Linked DNA regions of Homo sapiens: region 1 is linked to region 2. Evidence: promoter capture Hi-C in human tissues and cell types (Jung and others, 2019). All regions are on one chromosome and are shown on one strand. Each heading gives the region's core, a stretch centred on a gene start or on the middle of the fragment in contact. The rest is flanking DNA. Distances are from core to core; before and after follow the strand shown. Region 1 overlaps FOXP3 (forkhead box P3). Region 2 holds the start of SLC35A2 (solute carrier family 35 member A2).

What was found. Contacts are between HindIII fragments. The study calls those that stand out against the background at their distance.
Region 1: a fragment that was not itself captured here is called in contact with the fragment with the promoter of SLC35A2 in region 2 in 1 of the 25 tissues and cell types used here (spleen).

The regions. Positions count from the first base shown.
Region 1 is chrX:49,257,871-49,263,509 of GRCh38, forward strand. It overlaps FOXP3 (forkhead box P3), which reads right to left. Exons shown (of 12, transcript NM_014009.4): 2 at 426-657. The coding sequence starts at 635. Among named protein-coding and RNA genes, the nearest start is that of FOXP3, 4.0 kb to the right of the region's middle. The HindIII fragment of the contact is 7,509 bases long and covers 1-5,101 here.
Region 2 is chrX:48,910,396-48,914,986 of GRCh38, forward strand. SLC35A2 (solute carrier family 35 member A2) reads right to left here and starts at 1,251. Exons shown (of 5, transcript NM_005660.3): 1 at 1,151-1,251. The coding sequence starts at 1,241. It overlaps PIM2 (Pim-2 proto-oncogene, serine/threonine kinase), which reads right to left. Exons shown (of 6, transcript NM_006875.4): 5 at 4,000-4,176; 6 at 2,787-3,899. The coding sequence ends at 3,736. RefSeq lists a silencer at 445-494 and enhancers at 855-904, 2,145-2,194, 3,885-3,934. The HindIII fragment of the contact is 19,848 bases long and covers 1-4,591 here.

The sequences.
Region 1 (5,639 bases), core at 97-2,596, 350 kb after region 2:
CATCCCCCTTTTACACGTATGGAAACTGAGGCTCATGGAGATCGAGTAACTTTTTAAAGATCAAACAGCTAATAAGTTGCAGAGCTGGCCTCAGCCCTGTCACCTCACCTACTTGGCCCCAGTCCTCTTCTCTTGTCACATGGGGATGGGGACACATAGCTATGCTCATGGGACTACAATACGGCCTCCTCCTCTCCTGAGACAGGGATTGGGAGGTCGGGGAGAGCCTCCAATCTCTGAGGCCTGGCAGGTGGGGATTTTCTTGGCCCTGCAACATCTGCATAAGTCACAGACTTGCCTGGGACCCAGAAACCACTTCCTGTGCCCCAGCCAGCCCCCCTCCCGCCCAGTGCCACAGTAAAGGTCGGCACCTGTAGGTCCAGGTACCCCACCCTGCCTGCCCCATCCTGGGCCCAGGGCCTCACCTGCAGCTGCGATGGTGGCATGGGGTTCAAGGAAGAAGAGGAGGCATGGGCCCCGCCTCGAAGATCTCGGCCCTGGAAGGTTCCCCCTGGGCCCCGGGCCCCCAGCAGGTCTGAGGCTTTGGGTGCAGCCCTCCAGCTGGGCGAGGCTCCTGGGGATGGGCCAAGGGCCAAGGAAGGGGCCGAGGGCTTGCCAGGCCTGGGGTTGGGCATCGGGTCCTTGTCCAAGGGCAGGCTGCGTAGACAATAGGGGAAAGGAGTCACACGTGTGCTAGGGCGGTATGAGATACTCGACCACCTGAGCCACGTGGACACTCCTCTGGTCAAAGCAGGCATTGGCTGGGACATGTCCCGAGGGGCCCCATAGTTGCACCCCAGCTCTAGACACACACACACACACACACACACACACACACCAAGAACACAGGTACATGTACATACCCACACATGCCCCACGTGCAGAGGTCCAGCACCTGGCTTGCCTGCCCACGCTAGCACAGCCCTGGTGTGGATGTGTCCTCTATGAGGGCAATGGTTGTTTCCCCCTCCACTTGAGAGCTGTTTCAAGCCTCAGGCCTCTAGCCCTCCCTGCACCCTGCACAGGCTGTGTTTGCTCATCTTGCCGGAGCTGGTCTCGGACTTTCTCCTCGGAGTCCTATTTTGCCCCAGTGACTAGGCATGGACTCAAAAGATTCATCTGGCTGCTGTGAGTGGGGCTAGTGAGGAGGCTATTGTAACAGTCCTGGCAAGTGATGATGCTGGCACAGAATGGGCTGGTGGCAGTGGAGAAGGCGAGAAGTGGGTAGATTCTGAGACTTAATCTGAAGCTGGATCAGGAGCAGTGCTAGCAGCTTGGATGTAGTGGGCAAGAGGGAGAGTCAAAGTGACATGGGTTTTAGCTTGAGCAGCTGGAAGGACCGAGCTGACATTACCTGAGATGGGGGACATGGCGGGGAGTTGGATTGGGTGCAAAAGTGCAGGTGTAGATAGACATGAAGAGTCTGGCATTAAATATGTGAGTGGAGGAGCTGAGGGGGCAGCTGAATACGGGGGTCTGGATCTCAGGGCAAGGAGGCGAGTCCAGGAGTGTGATCATGCACGGATCCAGCATGGCAAGTGACAGAGAGGAGGAGAGATGGGGTCTCTTGAGCTGGGGCCTGTAGAAGCTTCTCTACCCAGCCCCCATCAGAGTTCACCCCAATTTCTGGCCCTCAAGCCTGGCTCATGCTACACCCCCTGCCTCAAATGCCCACTCCTTCTCCTCTTTCCCTGTCCAAGCCACGCAAGACCTGCTCTTCTATTGTCCTCACCTTGAAAGCCCTCCACAATGGCTCCGGGCCCCCTGCTGAGCCCCAGAACCTTCCACTCCCTGAGGGAAGCACTGGCTTTTCAGGATCCTATAATCCTGGTCTGAGAGGAAGCCAGAGCTGGAAGGGACTGCCCAGCCAACCCCATTATACAGAAGGGGATGCTCAGATGCCGAGTTCCGTAGTCCCATAGTGACTTGAGAACTCCACTTCTTTCTTTAGGAAGTGTTTCCGTGTGCACATTTTATAAACTCTCTGGTGTGTGTGTGTGTGTGTCTCCATCTCCCCGTTCCACCTCACAGCACTGAGTTGGGCACACAGCTGCTGAGAGCAGCCCGGGGGAGTATAGAAGGGTTCTGGGGGAGCAGTTGCTCCTTCCTTTCTTTGCTGTCACCTCCTGGGGGTGGTTGTCAGAGCTGTGGTGCTGAGGGAGATGAGTGTGAGAATCCAGGTATTAAGTTCTTAGTCTCCTGGGGGCTTAGAACATTACTGCGTGAGAAACAGGAGTGTGGGTCTGTGGAGGCTCCGAACAAGGGCCTGGGAGAGCACTGGTGAGATGAGAAGGTGAGTGAATGAATGAAGCCAGAGATGGGGTGATGCTCCTTCAAGCCAAGAAATAACAAAGATTGCCAGCAACCACCAGAAGCTGGGGGAGAGGCCTGGAGCAGCTTCTCCCTTATGGCCCCCAGAAGGAACCAACCCTGGCAACACCTTGATCTTGGACTCTGGCCTCCAGAACTGTGAGATGATCAATTTCTGTTGCTGAAGCCACTCAGTTGTGGTACTTTGTTATAGCAGCCAGAACAAACTAATACCGATTTCGGTGCAAATGGATGTTTTCCACCACTCTGGCCTGGCCCATGTGGCTGGCCTGTGGTCACTTCTGAAGCTGCCTGGACACTTGGCCAGAGCTAAGAATTCTCCCCAAACACATGTGGGATGGCCTGACTCAGCAAAGCATAGATACATTCTCAGACAGGGACATGGAGATGATCTGTCTGGGGGTAGAGGACCTAGAGGGCCGGGCTGGGCAGCCGGCTTCCTGCACTGTCTGTTGGGACGTCCCTTTCTGACTGGGTTTCTCAGAAGCTGAATGGGGGATGTTTCTGGGACACAGATTATGTTTTCATATCGGGGTCTGCATCTGGGCCCTGTTGTCACAGCCCCCGACTTGCCCAGATTTTTCCGCCATTGACGTCATGGCGGCCGGATGCGCCGGGCTTCATCGACACCACGGAGGAAGAGAAGAGGGCAGATACCCCACCCCACAGGTTTCGTTCCGAGAACTGGCTGCCCTGTCCTGCAGCAGGCTTGGCCCAGGTGGGGTGACATGGGTGCTGGTGGATGTGGTAGGTGATGTCCATCTGGCCACTATGACAAGCCCCTAGCTCTGAAGACCTGGCCCTTCTTGGGTTGTGGAGAGGACCCAGGTTTGAAGCTCTGAGAGTGCCAGGCAGGCTCCACAGATACTGGGACCCCTGGGGTCTTCAAATAGTATAACACCAGGACCTCAGAATCATAGAACAGCATTTCTTAGATTTAAAGGATCCTAGAATCTCAAAACCACAGACTGTGGGGTCTACGGTCCCAAAGTCTCAGTATGTGTAGGCCAGTGTCCCTGGTGTCCAAACTCCTTGGAACCATCTGAAAGTCAGGCAGCTTGCTGCTTCATAGGGCCTCTTGCCTACCAGGCCTGGAAACAGAGCCAGCCTCCCTAGGGCCTCAGTCTCCCTGTCCACTCTGGAACAACGTTCCCAAATACATGGCCACTCCGCCAGAGATGGCAACAGGGGGAGGAGGAGGTTGAGGCTGGTGTGCCTTTGGTCTGGGCCTCATGGGGGGAGCTGGAAAAGCCTCAGCCTTCGCCAATACAGAGCCCATCATCAGACTCTCTAGAGGGGCCCCACAATCAAGGTTTTCGGGGACCAGCACCAGCTCTGGGGACACACAGCCTGACTGACTGACATGCCTCCATCATCACCACGCTCTGGCCAACTAGGCCTCCTGACCTATGGAGTCCGGGGCCTCACCTAGCCCAGCTCTTGTGAGGCTGGGCCCCACACTGTGATCGTGGATCGTCCAACCTGTGGGAAGTTGGGGTCCAACGTGTGAGAAGGCAGAAGGGGGAATGGTAGCCCAGGTTCCCCTTCCCCCTTCTGGGTGCTGAGGGGTAAACTGAGGCCTGCAGTTGGGGAGAGAGCCAGAACCAGGGTCCCACCTAGAGTCCTGAGATCTAGGCTTGGATTTCAACTCTGCCGCTGCATTTCGGTGAGGCCCTGAGATCTCTGGTCTTCAATTTGCCCTTCTACACTGAGCACGGAGAGGCGTGGAGTAGACAAGGGCCAGGGCCCTTCTACGCTGTCTGGTTAAGTCATTAGGTGTCTGCAGGGCTTCAAGTTGACAATTGCCCCTCTATCCAGGGGACTGGCTGAGAGATAGGGATACATAGAGACAAAGAGACACACACAAAGAGCGAGCAAGAGAGAACAAGAGATAGTGAGAGACATTGAGAGAAATGGACACATGCATGGAGAGCCAGAGTGCATGTGTGCGAGAGGAGGATTGCCTCAAATAAGAACATTTGCTGGTCTCTGGCTGGTTCAACTGATGCTGCCTGAAATAATCAAGAATAAAGAAGGGCAAGGTGCCAGGGACACCCATGGCTGGGTATTGAATTGTATTGCAAAGCAACAATCAGCAAAACAGTGTGGCCCTGGTATAAGAACAGATACTGGGGAAGAGAACAGAATAGAAAGCTTGGACATGGACCCACATATGGAGAGAACTGAATTTGTGATGAATGTGGCATTTCAAACTGGAGGACCATGGAGTATGGTTTAACAAATGTGTCTGAGATAATTAGGGAGAAGATAAAGTTATTGAGTGAATAGTCAGTCCATTATCCCAACAACCCCTCCCTGCCCAGTTTGAAATGTCACCATCATCATATACCCTAAAATGCCCAGATCCATTCAAGATATAAGTTTTAACACCTAATGCTGATCTTGGGTTTATTGTGTGTCAGGCCTTGTGCTAAGTATTTACTGTGGTTAAAAATTTTAATCTAAACAAAGACTCCTGAGGAAGGTACTATTATAACCATTGCAGTACATATGAGGAAATGGAGGTATGGAGAGGTTAAGTGCCTGGCTAAAAATCACACATAGGGCTTGGGGTGACGCTGGGTTTGTCCCAGACAGTCTGGCTCCAGTACCCACACTCTTAACCTCTATAGTAAATGGAAAAAATGAAGCCATAAAAGAGACTAGAAGCCAACATAGGTGAACATTTATCTCATTTTCAAGTAGGAAAGGACTTTCTAAGCACAAAACCAGAGACAGAAGCCACAGAAAAAAAGACTAACCTATTTGACTGTATAAAACCATCATAAGCATCACAAAAAACACCATAAACAAATAGAAAAAAAGCAAATGATGAATTGGGGAAAATATTTGCTATATATGTAATGGCTGATGAAAGGTTAATAACCATTCCAAATAAAGAGCTGTGGCAAATCAATAAGGGAAAAATAAGATGAACACCCTATTAGGAGTAAGGACATGACCAGACAACCAAAAAAAAAAAAAAAAAAGCATGAATGGCCAATGAATAGTAAAAGTAATCACAAGATGCAAATTTCAACAATGTGATAATGTGTTTTTCTTACCTGTCATGTTGGGAAATAATTAAAACATAATAATACTCACCTAGGGTTAGCTTAAGTAGAGGGAGCATAAAATAGGACAACCTTTTGGAAGGAGAATTAGCAGAGAGGGTCATAAACTTTAAAAATGCACGCCCCCTTTGCCCCAGCAACTCCCTTTTCAGGAATCCAAGGAAGCAGTCAGGGATGTTTATAGAAAAAAACGAGAAACAACCGGAATGTCCAACAATCGGCACTTGGTCAAAT
Region 2 (4,591 bases), core at 1-2,500:
GATTTCTATGGATTACCTCAATAGACTCATATCACTGTCATCTCCAAAAGAACTGCGAGGATTCCCATTTATGGATTAGCAAACTGAGAATTTATATGAAATGATGCTCCTGTTTAATGAGGGACTGTCTCATGTAAAGAATAACACATCAATGCAGGGAATGAGGCCACTGTATGAGGTATGTTCACCCCCTAAGAACGGTCTTTCTCCTATCTAAGAAATGATTCGATTCCCTCACACTGAGAATGGCCTACATCCCATATGGAATGATCCTCCTCATACCCAGAATGGTCTCTCCAACCCCTCACTCCTGTGACAACTGGTTCCTCTCGAACCAGAATAGTCTACTAAATACAAGAAATGATTCCCACATGCTCCCAGGGACTGAATCCTGTATCAGGAATGGTTATCCCACCAAGAAAGGTCTGGCTCCCTCAACCAGATGAGGAAATACTTCCCTGCACTCCACATGGTCTGCCCTCCCACCACCGCACACGGACCCTCTAGCTAATGAATTTTTCCTTGCTCTACCCACACTCACAATGAGCTCTCTCTGCTATAAGGAAGGACCCGGCACTCTCAGAACGTTCTTTCTCCACCATATAACGATGAGCCCTCCCACCCGAATGTACAATGAACTCTACCTCCATTAGGAGGGAGCCCCCAGAACGGTCTCCTCCGCACATAATGAAAGACACCCCCATCCTCAAAATGGACCCTCTCTAGTCACATAAAGAAGGACTCGCCCCACCCTAACTCACAATAGTCTCTGTCCCTTTATAAGGAAGGAACCACCACCCTCAGAATAGTCTCCCCCTTCTTCAGTGAGGAACTCCCACACCCGCAGAATGGTCTCTTCCACACGGAAGGACTCCACATATTCAGAATGGTTTCGGTGGCCTTAGCCTTCCCAAAAAGAATTACCCACCACACTCACAATGGTCTCTACTCTCCATATGCGGAAGGATCCCACAATCACTCTCAGAATGTTCTCTTCCCCGCCCCCAACACACTGACAATGTGCACACACACACACACACACACGTCGGTCCACACGGGATGCTCCCTCTCACTTTAGTGAGGAACATTCCCGACTCCCAGCGATCCCGACCTCCGCCTCCCATGCGACTGCTCGGGCAGACTGTCTCACCCGCACTGGCGGTCCCCGGCTCCAATGCACCCGCGGAAACCGCCCCTGGCCCGGGCGCCGCGGTGGAACCACCAGCCCCAACCGCTGCCATGTTGGCATCTGCCCGGCCCGTCCCCTCGGCAACAGAAAAACCACTTCCGCGTTCGTCACTTCCGCTGCCGGGCCACCTGAGTGAAGGTGGAGCGAGAGCCGGGATCGTCAGGGTGGTGGCTTTTCTCCTCCGCTCCTAAAAGCTCAATGTATGAATAGCCCCGGGATTTCCAAATTCCGTCGGATCGGGAGGCCGGGGACACGGCCCGATCGGCCTACCCACCATCCCTACAGAGCTTCATCGGCCCATTCCTGTCACTAGACCCGCCTTATCCTGCCGTTCGTCCGCTTCACTGATCGCGCTTTCCAGATCATCCCCCGATCTTGTCTCCTAGACTCATTGGTTCAGCCACCCCTTTCATCTCGGCTCTTTATTGGCAGCTTCTCCATAAGGCGCCGCCCTTTCCGTATCAGAAACTACCAGGTGCTTCATGGTTGGACTGAAATTCCGCTTTCCCGTCTTCCAGAGAGGCCTCGCCCCCTGGAGAGCACACGGGAATCTGGGGACGAAGAAACTTTGACCTGGCGGGGTCGGGGTGAGGGCGTACTGGCATCAGGTGCGAGTCAGGAATGTTAAGCTAGCAGATAAAAGCAGAGCAGGTGAGGATAAACAAGTGAAAATGCAAAGGAAAGTTGACGCACATAAGGGAAGACAAGTGAGTCACCACTGAGGATGGCAAAGGGGACAGGCGAAAGGCTCACAGGTTAGCTAGCATTTGGAAGCAGGGCAAGAGTCCGGGCCAGAGGCGGTGGCTCACGCCTGTAATCCCAGCACTTTGGGAGGCTGAGCCGGGCGATCACCTGAGCTCAGGAGTTCCAGCCTGGGCAAAACGACAAAACCCCGTCTCAAATAAAAAAAAAAAATTACCCGGGCTTAGTGGTATGCACCTGTACCCAGCTACTCTGGAGGCTGAGGCAGGAGAACCGCTGGAACCCGGAAGGCGGAGTTTATACTGAACCGAGACAAATAAGCAGGGCAAGAGAGGGAACAACTCAGGTCGGAACAAGTGAAACCAACATGGAATAGGGTAGGCCAGGTAAGTCAAGTGTTGAAGGAGAAATTAGAGGGATGGGTATGTAAGGGTAAAGATGGGGGAAGAGGCTAAAGATAAAGAGCAAAACAGGTGACTACACCCTGGACAGATTCCAGTCAGCGCCCAACCCCAGCCCCGCCCTGGCCAGTACCCTGACAGGGCTTTTCTTCTGCAACAGGGGAAAGGGCTTCTTCATTCCCCTGGGGTGCCAGGGAAGGTAGTTTTTCTGCTTCTGAGATAGCCATCTTGATTGGGGATGTGCCCTAAACACCTTCAATATGCACAGTATCTCCAACAGAGAACCCTTCTGCACATACTGGGCACTGCATAAGATCAGGGGCAGGGGAATCAAGATTTTTTTGTGTGTGTGTGGTGCAGCTTCAAGAATCCTTAAAGCTCTTTAGGATGGCAACATAAGACTGTGGCTTCCTGAGGACAAAGCAGAGGGACAGTCTGTCTCAGTGCACAGTAGATGCTCCATAAAAGCCTCACACCTACAAATGGCCAGCCGCTTCTGATTCTATTACTTTTATTAAATAGTGGGTTTCCACACATGGCTTTTTAAATAATCCAGGCAGGAGAAGAGAGGAGGGCACACTTGGAACTCCCCTCCCCACAATACGTGATTATTTACATTTTAGTAATTGGACAATCCCGGCTCAGGAGGAGGTTGCAAGAATCTGCAAAAGTTGGAGGGAGCGCCCCAGGAGAACAAACAGCAAGCCTTATTTCCCCTAGCCCATCCCCCAAAAAACCATCCATCCCATCCTAGTGTCTGGTGGTGTCCGGTGGTGTCCATCTTCCATTCCTTCCCAAATTATGGAAGTAAGGTTCTTCTCACCAGAATAAGAGCACTTGGGATAACAGAGTAGGGTCCCCTCACCCAAAAAAAAAAAAAAAAAAAAGAAGCCTTGGGGTAACAACAGGGCATTACCTCCCCCAGAATAAAGAATCCTGGGCTGAGGCAGGTAAGCAGCTTGACCCAATATGGGACCCTAGGCTAGGGGAAAGGGTCCCTTTACTAAAATAAAAGCTACTGGGGTATTGGAAGGAAAGCACCCTTGCCCAAGTAAGAGCATATGAACTAAGTTTGTGTGGTGGTAGTAGGAGGTGCCAATGTGGGGTGACACATCATCAGAATAAGAGTCCCGGGGCTCAGAATGGGAACAACTTCACCAAAATAAACTTCCTTAGCAAAATGAGAAGCAAGAAGTTCCCCCTCCAGAATCAGGGACCACAGGTTCTGGGAGGAAGGCTCCTTTGTAGGATTGGGAAGGGAACTGGGCAGACTTGGTTTATGTCTTCTAACCCCTGATCCTCAATCCCTTACCTTAGTAATACTGGACTTTAATGACTGGTAATGACCTGTAAAACCAAGTCAACAAATGTCCATCTATCCCTGTGACATGGCCATGGGATGGCTCTTCTGACCATTGGGGGCCAGGCCAGGCCAGGCCAGGCTTAGGGTAGCAAGGACCAGGCCAAAGGGGCAGGGCCTCCTTTGGAGGGGTTGAGGGGTACATCCTCGGCTGGTGTTTGCATCCAGGGGTCCAGCAGGATCTCTTCCAGTGAGGGTCGGGAAGAAGGTTTGGGGGCCAGGCACCGGCGGATTAGGGCACAGCAGTCTGTAGGCCAAGAAGCAGAGAGGGAAGATTAGCAGTCAGTAGGGGGTACTGGTCCCTGAGAAGGATGGAGTCTTCTGGGCTGGGGTCAGTGAGGCCTCACCTGGGGAGACATGGGCTGGGAAGTGGAGCTCAGCTTCCAGAATCTCCTGGTCCCTCTCAAAGGGAATGTCCCCACACACCATGTCATAGAGGAGGATGCCCAGTGACCAGACAGTGGCCGGGAGTGCATGGTACTGGTGTCGAGAGATCCACTCTGGGGGGCTGTACACCCTTGTCCCTGCACACAAGCCAGGGGTTAGACCAACTCAATCTCATGATGCCCTTCTCCAACCCCAAACTCTCCAGGAAGGATGGCCTCACCACAATTAAGAGCACTCAAGATAAAAGCAGAGTCCCCTCACTAGATAAAAAGCAGCTAAAATAACAGAGTCCCCTCAACAGAATAAAAGCACTGAAAAGTAACAGGATCCCCTTACCAGAGAAAGAATACTCAGGATGGTAACAGGATCCCCTCACCAGAATAGGAGCCCAGAATAAGGTTAGCACACCATTAAAAGATGGACTTTATCAGAGGGCAAGGCTGAGAATCCCCAGTATTAGCAATCGATCATCTTATATAATGCAGTATGGGTCAAGGATTACAGGACACCCCACCACTGGAGGCCAAAGGTCACAAGGCCATCAAGTAAAAA